Regions from separate parts of the Homo sapiens genome. Here region 2 is linked to region 1. The links are contacts of gene promoters, found by promoter capture Hi-C in human tissues and cell types (Jung and others, 2019). All regions are on one chromosome and are shown on one strand. The core of a region is centred on a gene start or on the middle of the fragment in contact, and the rest is flanking DNA. Distances in the headings are between cores, read along the strand shown. Region 1 holds the start of STX1A (syntaxin 1A). Region 2 has its middle 13 kb from the start of TMEM270.

Region 1 (2,559 bases), core at 16-2,515:
AGCCTCTGGGTGGAGAAGACAAGCCGTGGGGTCAAATGCCCAAAGGACACTTGACATTTTCCATAGGAGGGGACCTTAGGGTTCTAGTTCCTAGCCCAGGGAGCGGGGTGGGGGGTGCTCCCAGGGATCAGCAGGCAGGGCTGCCAGCCAGGTGGCCAGCCAGGGGACCAGATGACCAGATGAGACTCAATCTAGTCTTGAGCCTTGATCCACCCCCCCTCCCCGACACACCCAGAGAGGCTTCATTTCCGTCGCTGTCCTCCACTCCCGGTCACCATCCTCCTGGGCTCCTCATCCCTAAGGGCAGAGGCCAGGGGAAGGGGACCCACGCAGGCTGCAGGGGTCTCTGGGCTGGGAGAAGGTGGGCTCTGACTCAGAACGTTTGTGCATCCTCCTACTCCCCCCAAACCCCGCCCCAGGAGCCACACCCCAGGGGTTTCCCAGATACAGGTAGAAAAATAGATCCAAGTCGCAAGGAACCCTGAAGGGTCTGGAAACGCCAGCCAGTGCTGCCCGAAAGCCCGAAGGTGGATAGGTGGACCGGGGGCGGGTGTGACGCCCCCCCCCCCATACCTGGGGCGGGCAGTGGATCCCTACTGCGACCAAGCAGAGGGGGAGCCACAGGTGATGGGAGCCACAGGTGACCAGGGTGGCCCGAGGAGGCCGCCACCACCCGACGATCAGGTTTCCGCAGCGCGCCCCGCAGCGGGGCCCCGCGCAGGGGACCGGCACCGGCCCACCGCGGTCCCCTCGTCTGTCTACACCAAGGAGGTTCCCACCGCGGTCCCCTCGTCTGTCTACACCGAGGGGGCACGGGAGGTCAGAGATGAGGGGCAGTGAGGGGGCCAGAGAAAGGGCCTGCTCTGCGGGAGGGGGAAGAGGTCCCGCCACCAAAACCCCATCATACCCTCCGAACCCCCCAAATCAAGAGGGCCCCGAAAAGTTTATCCAGGACCCCGGACTCCAGCCGACCGTCCACGTGTCAGCGCGGCCGAGCTCACGCGAGCCTGACCCCGAGTGGGTCCGAGGGGCGGAACCCGGAGGGGGGTCGAGGTCCCTGGCTCGCCCCGCTCCCTTCAGCCCTGGCTGGGGGCGCAGGAGCGGCCACCATCCTGGCCGCGGGAGCCGGGCGGGAAGTGTCCGGCGCGTTGGCGCTGGCGGCGGGCGGCGGGCGGCCGCGCGCTGGGGCCGGACTCACCGTGCGGAGCTCCTGGGTTCGGTCCTTCATGCTCCCGGGAGTGGCAGCGGCGCCGGCTGCAGCCGTGTGAGCCCCGCATGCGCGACGGCCGCCCCGCGGCTGCGCAGCGCCAGCCCGGCCCCGCCCCGGCCCCCGGGACCCCGGCCCCGCCCCACCCCGCCCGGGCCCCGCCCAGACCCCGCCCAGACCCCGCCCCACCCCGCACGAGCAGCCCCGTGGGGATCGAAGCCCTGGGGTCTCGTCCTGGACGTTCCGCACGCGTGATCGCTCCCGGGGATGGGTCCCCAGAGACCCTGCTGCCTCCTCTGCCCCAGCCCTGTCTCGTTTTTTATTTATTATTTTTGGAGACAGGGTCTCGCTCTGTCGCCCAGGCTGGAGTGCTGTGGTGCAATCATAGCTCACTGCAGCCTTGAGCTCCTGAGCTCAGGCAATCCTCCCGCCTCAGTCTCCTGGGTGGCTGGGACTAGAGTTGCTCGCCACTACTCCTGAATAATTTTCAAATATTTTGTAGAGACAGGGTCTTGCTATGTTACTCAGGCTGGTCTTGAACTCCTGTCCTCAAGCGATCCTCCCTCCTCCCAAAGCTCTGCGATTACAGGCGTGAGCCACCGTGCCTGGCTTCCAGCCTCTTCCCGACTTAGCAGCTCAGCATCCCTGTCCCAGAATCCGGTCCTCATCCTCAGATCCCTTCACTTCCCCAGAATTTGCTGAAGGTTGTAACTCCCTCCTTCATTTCATTACCTTGGGACCTCCTGCTCTCCCTTCTGTTCCCCAGCCAAAAACCTCCTGGAGAGTTCCAGTCTGGGAGCCTCCACCCTTCCCCCTTGCTCCCATCATCCAGTAGGGACTCAGGCACTGGCCTCTTCTTTCCCTAGGATTTCTCAGTTCACAGCTCTGATGCTGCGTGACCCACCCCTTTTTCCTGCAGGATGAAGGAACTCCTCTATCTTTTTATGTTTGTTTGTTTGTTTGATTATTTATTTATGAGATGGAGTTTCACTCTTGTCGCCCAGGCTGGAGTGCAGTGGCGCTATCTCAGCTCTGCCTCCTGGGTTCAAGCGAGTCTCCTGCCTCATCCTCCCAAGTAGCTGGGATTACAGGTGCCCACCACCACGCCCGGCTAATTTTTTGTATTTTTTAGTAGAGACAGGGTTTCACCATGTTGAGCAGGCTGGTCTCAAACTCTTGACCTCTTGATTCTCCCGCCTCGGCCTCCCAAAGTGCTGGGCTTATAGGCGTGAGCCACCGTGCCCGGCCTATTTTTTTTTTTTTTTTTTGAGACGGAGTCTCACTCTGTTGCCCAGTCTGGAGTGCAGTAGCACGATCTTGGCTCACTGCAACCTCCACCTCCCGAGTTCAAG
Region 2 (2,559 bases), core at 25-2,524, 150 kb after region 1:
CTCCCAGGTTCAACCAATTCTACTGCCTCAGCCTCCAGAGTAGCTGGGATTACAGGCACGCACCACCACACCCGGCTAATTTTTTGTATTTTTAGTAGAGGTGGGGTTTCACCATGTTGGCCAGGCTGATCTCAAACTCCTGACCTCAGGTGATCTGCCTGCCTCGACCTCCCAAAGTGCTGGGATTACAGGCATGAGCCACCGAACCCAGCCGGCAGAGGTTATTCTTGCAAGGAGTCTGAGGCTGTGTGAGGCAACCTCCTAGCACTATGCTAAAGCCTTGTAACTCCAAGATTCAAGGATTCTGCGATGCTGCCTTCCCAGATTCTCAGTCTTCTAGGATAGGGGATGTGAATAGCCTTGGGGTGGAGGCCGGAGATTTGGCGTGCAGGGTTGGGGTGAGTGGGGGGTGAGGAGGGAAGCAGGGGATGGCCACAGCCCGTGGCCTGGAACTGGGGACCTTGCTGCCTGCCTGCCCGGAACAGTCTTAGCTCTGGTGCTGGCCCAGCCTCCGAGGCCTGGGTTGTGTTTGCAGAGCCTGGCGATCCTGCATCCTGTGGTCAAGCTTTATCGAAGCATCATTGGCCCAGATTGAAAGAAGTGCTTTATTGTAGCCTGCAGCCCGGAGGCCTGGAGCAACAGGCAATTCAAACCACAGAGCCCCATGCCTTCTCCCGCACCTCCTTACCCAAGGAAAATTTGAGTCAGCAAACATGCAGGATGAAGACACAAATAAAAAATAACGAGGGCTAGCATTTATTAAATATTCGCTATGGGCCAGATACTGTTCTGAGGGCTTTGCTTGTATTAACTCATTCCAGTCTCCCTGGGAGGGAGGCACTGTTGTTACCATTTAACCCATTTTACAGATGGGGAACCTGAGGCTTAAGTTCTGCTTGGTTATTGGGTAGCAGAGCTGGGATGCAAACCGGGAAGACTGGCTCCAAAGTCTGTGTCTCCCTCCCCCTTTTTTTAGACAAGGTCTCTGTTGCCCAGGCTAGAGTGCAGTGGCATGATCATAGCTCACTGCAGCCTCAAACTCCTGGGCTCAAGCAATCCTCCTGCCTCAGCTTCCTGAGTAGCTGGGACTACAGGTGTAAGCTACCACACCTGGCTAATATATATATTATATATATATATATATAAAATACATATTTATATTTTTTAGAGTTGGAGTCTCATGGCTGGGTGTGGTGGCTTATGCCTGTAATCCTAGCACTTTGGGAGGCTGAGGCGGGCAGATTGCTTGAGCTCAGGAGTTCAAGACCAGCCTGGGCAACATGGTGCAACTCCTAAAGATACAAAAGTTAGCTGGGCATGGTGGCATGCACCTGTAGTGACAGCTACTGAGGAGGCTTAGGCAGGAGAATCACTTGAACCTGGGAGGCAAAGGTTGCAGTGAGCCAAGATCACACCTCTGCACTCCAGCCTGGGTGACAGAGTGAGACTCCATCTCAAAAAAAAAAAAAAGAGATGGGGTATCACTATGTTGCCCAGGCTGGTCTCAAATTCCTGGAGTTAAGCGATCCTCCTGCCTTGGCTTCCCAAAGTGCTGGGATTGCAGGTATGAGCCACCATGCCTGGCCAAATCTGTGTCCTTGGCCAGGATGGACCACTGCTACATCCGGCCTCTCTGCAAGCTGGGGTGGGGTTGGGGAGACAGAAAGAGCAGAGAGAGGTAGACAGAGCCAGACAGTGAGAGGGATGGCGCTAAGGCCCTCAGAGGTGATGTCCCTGGGCTGTGCCCAGGAGGAGAAGCAGAATTGGCTGAGTTACCAGGATCATCTGTCCTATCTCCCCCAGGTCGTCAGACGAGGTGTCCAGGTGTGGAAGGGCAGTGTCCCACCTTGTCAAGCCTTCCAAAGTCAAACAAAGATGGGCTTTGCATGATCTGATTCCGGTGGCCAGGGAGCTGGGTTCCCCTGGCTCTTCTTTTTTTTTTTTTTGAGAGGGAATCTCGCTCTGTCGCCCAGGCTGGACTGCAGTGGCGCGATCTCAGCTCACTGCAAGCTCTGCCTCCTGGGTTCACGCCATTCTCCTGCCTCAGCCTCCCGAGTAGCTGGGACTACAGGCGCCCGCCACCATGCCCAGCTAATTTTTTTTTTTTTTGTATTTTTAGTAGAGATGGGGTTTCACCATGTTAGCCAGGATGGTCTCGATCTCCTGACCTCGTGATCCACCTGCCTCGGCCTCCCAAAGTGCTGGGATTACAGGCGTGAGCCACCGTGCCCGGCCTCCCCTGGCTCTTTTAAAGGGTGGGAATTTGGGGCTGCGGAGGGCCAAGAGGTCAACCTTGGAGGACCCACCCACTGTGGCCTAGTCTCCTGGGGGAGCACCTGACCCTGAGGTGAGGGTGCTGCCTGGGATTCAAACCAGAGGGTCTGACTTCAAAGCCTGTGTACCTCCACACTTTTTTTTTTTTTTTTTGAGATGGAATTTCACTCCTGTTGCCCAGGCTGGAGTGAAGTGGTGTGATCTCGGCTTACTGCAGCCTCTGCCTCCTGGGTTCCAGCAATTCTTCTGCCTCAGCCTCCGGAGTAGCTGGGATTACAGGCACGT

The links. The method cuts DNA at HindIII sites, captures the fragments that hold promoters and counts their contacts. A contact is called where the count stands out against the background at its distance.
Region 2: a fragment that was not itself captured here is called in contact with the fragment with the promoter of STX1A in region 1 in 1 of the 25 tissues and cell types used here (lymphoblastoid cells).

The regions. Positions count from the first base shown.
Region 1 is chr7:73,718,404-73,720,962 of GRCh38, forward strand. STX1A (syntaxin 1A) reads right to left here and starts at 1,266. Exons shown (of 10, transcript NM_004603.4): 1 at 1,199-1,266. The coding sequence starts at 1,228. RefSeq lists silencers at 662-741, 852-911, 922-1,121, 1,182-1,381. The HindIII fragment of the contact is 19,582 bases long and covers 634-2,559 here.
Region 2 is chr7:73,873,159-73,875,717 of GRCh38, forward strand. No RefSeq gene overlaps it. Among named protein-coding and RNA genes, the nearest start is that of TMEM270, 13 kb to the left of the region's middle. The HindIII fragment of the contact is 7,065 bases long and covers 1-2,559 here.